Regions from separate parts of the Homo sapiens genome. Here regions 1 and 3 are each linked to region 2. The links are contacts of gene promoters, found by promoter capture Hi-C in blood cells and fetal thymus (Javierre and others, 2016). All regions are on one chromosome and are shown on one strand. The core of a region is centred on a gene start or on the middle of the fragment in contact, and the rest is flanking DNA. Distances in the headings are between cores, read along the strand shown. Region 1 has its middle 15 kb from the start of CSK. Region 2 holds the start of FAM219B (family with sequence similarity 219 member B). Region 3 holds the start of CYP1A2 (cytochrome P450 family 1 subfamily A member 2).

Region 1 (2,700 bases), core at 184-2,683, 140 kb before region 2:
ACTTTTGTGAAATACCTAGAATAGTCAAAACCCTACAGATAGACAGAACAGTGGTTGCCTGGGGCTGGGGAGAAGGGGGAATGGGGAGTTAGTGTTTAATGGGTAGGGTTTCAGGTTTACAAGATGGAAAGGGCTCTGGAGATGGACAGTGGTGATGGCTGCACAACATTATGAGTGCATTTAATACCACTAAACTGTGTACTTAAAAATGGTTAAGATGGAGGCTGGGCACGTTGGCTCACTTCTGTAATTCCAGCACTTTGGGAGTCTGAGGTGGGTGGATCACTTCAGGTCAGGAGTTCAGGACCAGCCTGGCCAACATGGTGAAAACCCCATCTCTACTAAAAATATAAAAATTAGCCGGGCATGGTGGCGGGTGCCTGTAACCCCAGCTACTCGGGAGGCTGAGGTGGGAGGATTGCTTGAGCCTGGGAGGTAGAGGTTGCAGTGAGTTGAGATGGCTCCACTGCACTCCAGCCTGGGCAACAGAACGAGAGCCCATTAAAAAAAAAAAAAAAAGGTTGGCTGGGCACAGTGGCTCACACCTGTAATCTCAGCACTTTGGGGGGCTGAGGCAGGAGGATCATCTGAGGTCAAGAGTTCAAGACCAGCCTGGCCAACATGGTGAAACTCTGTCTCTATTAAAACTACAAAAATTAGCTGGGCATTGGGAGGCAGAGGTTGCAGTAAGCCCAGATCATGCCACTGCGCTCCAGCCTGGGCAACAGAGCGAGACTCCATCTCAAAAAAAAAAAAAATAGCCAGGTATGCCGGGCGCGGTGGCTCACGCCTGTAATCCCAGCACTTTGGGAGGCTGAGGCGGGTGGATCACCTGAGGTCAGGAGTTCGAGACCAGCCTCAACATGGAGAAACCCCGTCTCTACTAAAAGCACAAAATTAGCCAGACATAGTGGTGAATGCCTGTAATCTCAGCTACTCGGGAGGCTGAGGCAGGAGAATTGTTTGAACCCAGGAGGCGGAGGCTGCAGTGAGCCAAGATTGTGCCATTGCACTCCAGCCCAGGCGAAGGAGCGAGACTCCATCTGAAAAAAGAAAAGAAAAGAAAAGAGGAGGGTGGGCGCGGTGGGTCACGCCTGTAATCCCAGCACTTTGGGAGGCTGAGGCGGGCGGATCACAAGGTCAGGAGTTCGAGACCAGCCTGGCCAATATGGTGAAACTCTGTCTCTACTAAAAATACAAAAATTATCCGGGAGTGGTGGCGGATGCCTGTAGTCCCAGCTACTCGGGAAGCTGAGACAGGAGAATCGCTTGAACCCGGGAGGCGGAGGTTATAGTGAGCCAAGATCGAGATCGGACCACTGCACTCCAGCCTGGGAGATAGAGCGATACTTTGCTTCAAAAAATAAAAAATCAAAAAAAAAAAAAAGAGGAAAAAGAGTTCTAGGCAGAGGGACCAACCTGTGCAAAGGTCCTGAGGCAGGAAAGGGGTTACTGTGTGCTTGAAGGCAAATTATCACCCCTCTTAGGAAAGGCATAGCCTCACCTGTGAAATAACCCAAATTTAGAGATGGAGAGACAGAGGTTCAGAGAGGGAAGATGGCTTCTTCAGGAAAGCAGAAGAGCCAGAACTGAAACCTAGATCTTTTTGGCTCTATGAACTCAGAGGTATTTCAGGTATGCATTTGGGGACCTTTTGCAAGATTGTAAAGACCAGGACGGGAAGGAAAGGGCCACCCTCCGGGGGCTTTTCTTTTCCTGGGAAGAAGGTCTTCTTTCCAGGAAGGTGGTGTACGGGCAAGGCTGAAAACCCAGCCTTCATTCTGCCAGGCCAGTCCCCTCCTAGTCCCTGCTGCCCCAGGGCTGCAGAATCCTATCCTGGCTCCTGCCAGGCTCCCCTGCAGCTGGGCAAACAGGCAGTGGGTGGGACTCGGTATAATTTCCTCCTTGCCCGCCTGGGGTCTGCTAGGCTCTGGCTGAGCTCTCTGGCCTCTGCCCTGCACCCCCAACTTGGAGCCCAAAGGGGGTCATGGGTCTTTCTGCCCTGTGTCCCCAGGGATGCACCCGATGAGTTTGAGAAGGGGCTGCCTTCTCACCCAGAGAGAGGTGAGGCCATCCCCTCACCCAGAGAGGGGCTCCAGGCCCCACTCCAAGGGAGAGTCAGAACTTCCCGGTGCCTACAGGCGCACTGTGCTAAACCAGTGTGAGCATCCTGCGCTGATAATGCTACATGCATAAGCTGCGGATGCACAGGGGCTCAGACTCAGGGGACTGTGGGGAGTCCTGGCAGCCACATATACATCGGGCTCACCCCTGTAGCACCCCATCTAGAAAAGCCCATCCAGAGCCAGAAGGGGCTTCTGGGGATGGTTCCTGGAAGGGCTGGGTTCTGCTGTTCTCTGAGTGACCAATCCACCCATTCTTTCCAGAAATGGTCCTATCCCATCTCCTTCCCCTCCAGCCGCTCTCGGTTCCCTGCCCTCATCCACCCAGGATGTCACTGGGCCTGCTGCGAGTGGCTGCCCGGGGAAAAGGCCAGGAGCTCTGCAATGAGCCTGTAATCCCAGCACTTTGGGAGGCTGAAGTGGGTAGATACGCACTACACACAAGCCAGCACCAGGTTCCTCCCACCCAGGGGATGACAGAGGAGCTCCAGCTCACCACCGTGCCTCAAGTCCCCTGCTTAACTGTCCTATGTGAGCTCAGGGCCGCCCTCTGGGGGCTTTTCTTTTATTTATTTAT
Region 2 (2,700 bases), core at 136-2,635:
CAGGCTGCAGTGCAGTGGCGCGATCTCGGCTCACTGCAATCTCCGCCTACCATGCTCAAGTGATTTTCCTGCCTCAGCCTCTTGAGTAGCTGGGACTACAGGCGTGCCCAGCTAATTTTGTATTTTTAATAGAGACGGGCTTTCACCATGTTGGCCAGGCTGGTCTCGAACTCCTGACTTCAAGTGATCCACCCGCCTCGGCTTCCCAAAGTGCTGGAATTACAGTCGTGAGCCACCACGCCCGGCCTGTATTCTACTCCTCCCATAGGTCTTGGAAAAAAGCACACCTCCCCTTGCCTGATCTAGGAAAAGCACCCTCTCCCCACTTATTTAATCAGAGGACACAAAAACTGCAAGTCTTTGGGTAAAAGGTTAGGGTTAACCTTCACTTCTCCGAGTTTCAACCCTCATCTGTAAAAGGAGGCACTGAATAAGGTTCTATGCAGCTCCGAGTTTACTATTCTGTTAAAAACAAACAAACAAAAACAGGTCTAGCCATTCCCACACTGCTCTTCGTCCTCATTGCTGGGGACTCCAGCCACCATTCTCCTCCCTAACAGAGGAGGAGAATGATAGTGAATGAGCCTGTGCACTCACAGAACTCCCTTATTCCGAAGCCCTTTATCTGATCCTATCACATCCTTAAAGGAAAAGAGAGATTGTTCCTCTTCCCATTTTAAAGATAGTGAACCTGACAGGTTGCATCAGGGGAATCGCTAGCTCGGCCTTAAACCAGAGCACCCTGCCTCCGTCCTGGGGATTAAAGCCTTCTCTAAAGCTGCTGGCACAGAGGAGGTGGCGCCTGCTGAGACCTTTTCCCTGAAGAGTCTGGGCGGTTCGGCGAGGCCCCCAGCATGCCTTTTCTCCGCAGAACGGCCTTGGCCAGGTCCCGGTGCTTCTCTGGAAGTTAAAGGACCCGGGTCAGCCGGGTCTTCCCCACTCCGCCGCGTCTCCCGAAGGCTGGGAGGCCGCTCTTTCCGAACGGATTTTGAGGGGCGAGAGCAGGCTGCAGCTAACCCCTTCCCTCCGGGGCCGAGGCCCAGCGGAGCTCCGGAACCCGCCCTGGGGACGCGGCCGCCCGCCCAGGGAGAAACCTCCCCCGACCATCGGGCCACACTCACGCAGCTTGGCTTGAATGGAGGGTGCGCGCGTCACCATGTATGGCCCCCGCTTTTCCACGGCCGCGGGGGTGCGCTCCCCCAGACGGAGGGCTCTATTACCGATCTGCCCGGAGGGTGGCCCCGCAGCTCCCGGCGCGCGGTCCCGAGCCCCGCTGGGCCGGGGTCCCGGGGTAGACAACCGCAACGCGCGCCCGCTGGGCTCCGCGGTCGCCATGGCCGGGCCCCGCCCTGCCGGATGGTGCAACCCCGCCCGTGGCGAAAGAGTGACCGGCCGAGGGAGAGGCGGGCTCTTTTAACAAGATGGCGGTGCGCAGGCGCAGGTAGTCCCCTTTCGGAGCTCTCCGGTTCGGTAGTCTGAGGACTTGGCCGAAATGTTCCGCCCTTCTTTTCGGGGGGACCGGGCAGTTCCGTTCTCGGTTTTGGGGTAGGCGGCTTGAGCCTGGTGATGGTTAGGCTTAGTTCTGTCTCTAGTGGAAATTAAATACTGATACTGTCGTGGGGCTGCGCGTGTGCGTCGGTCGGGTGCCCACGGTTTGAGTCCTGGCGCGCCGCACTCTGTGCTTCTCGCAGTGTCTCCTTGGGGGTCTCCCCACATGTGGGGCTGCCAGAGAGCAGACTTGGGTTGAAGAGTCATATGAGGACAAGCGTTATCAGCGACCTTTTCTAGCAAAAGAAACAGGCCCCAGAAGTTAAAGAACCTTGTGAAGGTGACACATCTAGAGGCAGTGCTTGCGCTGATCCATCTGACGCCAAACCCCACCTTCTTTCCAACACCAATTGGTGCCTGTGACATTGGACAGGACCTGACCCTCTCTAGGCCTCAGTTTCCACATTTAAAAATAGAGCCAATGTCACTACTCATTGTACAGTGAGGCAAATAGGCGTTGAAAAGGAGGGTGAAAGTGCACTCTGAGTCTGTGTGTGGTAGGCTATGTGTCAGGGCTCTTGACTTCTCTAGCCCCCAAGGGATGTGCTTGTGACTGGCTGGAAAGAAACTCCAGATCCTTGTAGAACTCCCAAATCTCATGAGGCTGTCCCTTGACTAACTTACTGGCTTCAATAGGGTAGGTCAACAGTGTGCAACCTCCGAGCTCCCAGGGCCACGCAGACCGTTGGGTGGCACTATGCCTTGGGCAAGAGAGGTGAAAAGGAAGAATTTAGGGCTGAAGTTTTCAAAAATCAAAAGCACAAAGGAATCCTTACCATTTTGGTAGATTCCCCCCACTCCCCATGATGTTAGACTGTTTTTGCCTCCAGAAACAGCAGGTTCATATAGCTCAACTTAGTATTTAATGGTTATAACCTCCCAATGAAGCCAATAGTTATTCTTGTTAAACAAATGAAGCTTAGACTTGGTCAAGTTTACCAGTTAAGTGATAAACCTGGAATTTGTACCCAGTTGCCTGTGGACTCCAAAGAAGTAGTTTTCTGGCCGGGCACAGTGGCTCACATCTGTAATCCCAGCACTTTGGGAGGCTGAGGCAGGCGGATCACCCGAGGTAGGGAGTTCAAGACCAGCTTGGCCAACATGGTGAAACCCCATCTCTACTGAAAATACAAAATTAGCCGGGCGTGGTGG
Region 3 (2,700 bases), core at 81-2,580, 160 kb before region 2:
ATTGTTTTAATTTTATGGGTACATAGTAGGTGTATATATGTATGGGGTACATGAAATGTTTTGATACAGGCATGCAATATGAAATAAGCATTCATGGAGAATGGAGTATCCATCCCCTCAAGCAAGGATAAACCTTTGAGTTACAAACAATCCAATTACACTCTTTAAAGGTGTACATTTTTTTTTTTTTTGAGACGGAGTCTCACTCTGTCGCCCAGGCTGGAGTGGAGTGGCACGATCTTGGCTCACTGCAGCCTCCACCTCCCAAGTTCAAGCCATTCTCCTGCCTCAGCCTCCCGAGTAGCTGGGATCACAGGCACATGCCACCATGCCTGGCTAATTTTTGTATTTTTAGTAGAGACGGAGTTTCACCAGGTTGGCCAGGCTGGTCTTGAACACCTGATCTCAGGTGATCCGCCCATCTCGGCCTCTCAAAGTGCTGGGATTACAGGTGCGAGCCATCGCGCCTGGCCTAGAGGTGTACATTTTTTAACAGAACCATTCAAAAGGAGGTTGTGGGGATCATGACACTTCCATGCTACAGCATTAATCTCCTAAGAATAAGGATACACTCCCACATACCATGACACTCTGTTCACACCTAAAAAAATTTACATTTATTCCAGAATATCATCTAATCTCCAGTCCGTGCTTACATGTCCCCAATTGTCCCCAAAACATCTTTTATAGATTTTTTTAAAATTTTGTTTAAATGCCATATCCAATCGATATGGCAATCAAATGCAAATCCATATTGCATTTGGTTATGTCTCTTAGTCTTTTTGCATAAGGGGGGCCTCTCTTTAGGATGCAAAATCTTTATCATCTCTTCTTTTCCACTTGGGGACTTGGGCTGAAAATCAGGAGTGGCTGGAACACGCCCATTTACTGTTTGGTTTTGCAGGTTGTTGGAGGGTACTACAGAAGAACATCCCTCTGGAGAGGGGCCGTGAGCCTGGTTGGCCTAGACTGAGTGCCCTGGCAGAGCTCTTCCTCATGTGTGCAGTGGGAAAGAAGCCCAGATCAGTCCAAAGGCCTAACCCCCACTCCCAGACCCTACCCTACTCTTCAGAGAAATAGGCTCCCTACCCTGAACCCTAAAGACAGCTGTACCTTCATCCCCAGGGACCCAGCACCCCTTCTGGCCTATCCCCAAAGAGTCACCCTGGGTCTTAGGTAGTAGGTGGAGCTGAGGGATAATGGCCCAAGGCCAAGAGTTGATCCTTCCAACTTTGTTCAGTGATCCAGCTTTCATATCAGGTGATCAGGACAACCAGGCCAATCTGATAGGGGGCGGTGTTTATAAAAAGGCCACTCACCTAGAGCCAGAAGCTCCACACCAGCCATTACAACCCTGCCAATCTCAAGCACCTGCCTCTACAGGTACCTTTCTTGGGACCAATTTACAATCTCTGGGATCCCCAACTATAGAACCTGGAAGCTAGTGGGGACAGAAAGACGGGGAGCCTGGGCTAGGTGTAGGGGTCCTGAGTTCCGGGCTTTGCTACCCAGCTCTTGACTTCTGTTTCCCGATTTTAAATGAGCAGTTTGGACTAAGCCATTTTTAAGGAGAGCGATGGGGAGGGCTTCCCCCTTAGCACAAGGGCAGCCCTGGCCCTGGCTGAAGCCCAACCCCAACCTCCAAGACTGTGAGAGGATGGGGACTCATCCCTGGAGGAGGTGCCCCTCCTGGTATTGATAAAGAATGCCCTGGGGAGGGGGCATCACAGGCTATTTGAACCAGCCCTGGGACCTTGGCCACCTCAGTGTCACTGGGTAGGGGGAACTCCTGGTCCCTTGGGTATATGGAAGGTATCAGCAGAAAGCCAGCACTGGCAGGGACTCTTTGGTACAATACCCAGCATGCATGCTGTGCCAGGGGCTGACAAGGGTGCTGTCCTTGGCTTCCCCATTTTGGAGTGGTCACTTGCCTCTACTCCAGCCCCAGAAGTGGAAACTGAGATGATGTGTGGAGGAGAGAGCCAGCGTTCATGTTGGGAATCTTGAGGCTCCTTTCCAGCTCTCAGATTCTGTGATGCTCAAAGGGTGAGCTCTGTGGGCCCAGGACGCATGGTAGATGGAGCTTAGTCTTTCTGGTATCCAGCTGGGAGCCAAGCACAGAACACGCATCAGTGTTTATCAAATGACTGAGGAAATGAATGAATGAATGTCTCCATCTCAACCCTCAGCCTGGTCCCTCCTTTTTTCCCTGCAGTTGGTACAGATGGCATTGTCCCAGTCTGTTCCCTTCTCGGCCACAGAGCTTCTCCTGGCCTCTGCCATCTTCTGCCTGGTATTCTGGGTGCTCAAGGGTTTGAGGCCTCGGGTCCCCAAAGGCCTGAAAAGTCCACCAGAGCCATGGGGCTGGCCCTTGCTCGGGCATGTGCTGACCCTGGGGAAGAACCCGCACCTGGCACTGTCAAGGATGAGCCAGCGCTACGGGGACGTCCTGCAGATCCGCATTGGCTCCACGCCCGTGCTGGTGCTGAGCCGCCTGGACACCATCCGGCAGGCCCTGGTGCGGCAGGGCGACGATTTCAAGGGCCGGCCTGACCTCTACACCTCCACCCTCATCACTGATGGCCAGAGCTTGACCTTCAGCACAGACTCTGGACCGGTGTGGGCTGCCCGCCGGCGCCTGGCCCAGAATGCCCTCAACACCTTCTCCATCGCCTCTGACCCAGCTTCCTCATCCTCCTG

The links. The method cuts DNA at HindIII sites, captures the fragments that hold promoters and counts their contacts. A CHiCAGO score of 5 or more calls a contact.
Region 1: a contact is called between a fragment that was not itself captured here and the fragment with the promoter of FAM219B in region 2, in 6 of 17 cell types (non-activated CD4 T cells, activated CD4 T cells, neutrophils and 3 more). The highest score is 6.5, in non-activated CD4 T cells.
Region 3: a contact is called between the fragment with the promoter of CYP1A2 here and the fragment with the promoter of FAM219B in region 2, in 6 of 17 cell types (fetal thymus, monocytes, erythroblasts and 3 more). The highest score is 9.1, in fetal thymus.

What each region holds. Positions count from the first base shown.
Region 1 is chr15:74,765,898-74,768,597 of GRCh38, forward strand. No RefSeq gene overlaps it. Among named protein-coding and RNA genes, the nearest start is that of CSK, 15 kb to the right of the region's middle. RefSeq lists an enhancer at 1,437-2,214. The HindIII fragment of the contact is 2,992 bases long and covers 1-2,700 here.
Region 2 is chr15:74,905,466-74,908,165 of GRCh38, forward strand. It overlaps FAM219B (family with sequence similarity 219 member B), which reads right to left and starts at 1,386. Exons shown (of 5, transcript NM_020447.5): 1 at 1,122-1,386; 2 at 813-900. The coding sequence starts at 1,335. RefSeq lists enhancers at 1-802, 803-1,607, 1,449-1,728 and a silencer at 1,089-1,388. The HindIII fragment of the contact is 3,941 bases long and covers 1-2,464 here.
Region 3 is chr15:74,747,515-74,750,214 of GRCh38, forward strand. It overlaps CYP1A2 (cytochrome P450 family 1 subfamily A member 2), which reads left to right and starts at 1,331. Exons shown (of 7, transcript NM_000761.5): 1 at 1,331-1,383; 2 at 2,216-2,700. The coding sequence starts at 2,225. RefSeq lists promoters at 1-1,421, 1,087-2,224. The HindIII fragment of the contact is 9,803 bases long and covers 1-2,700 here.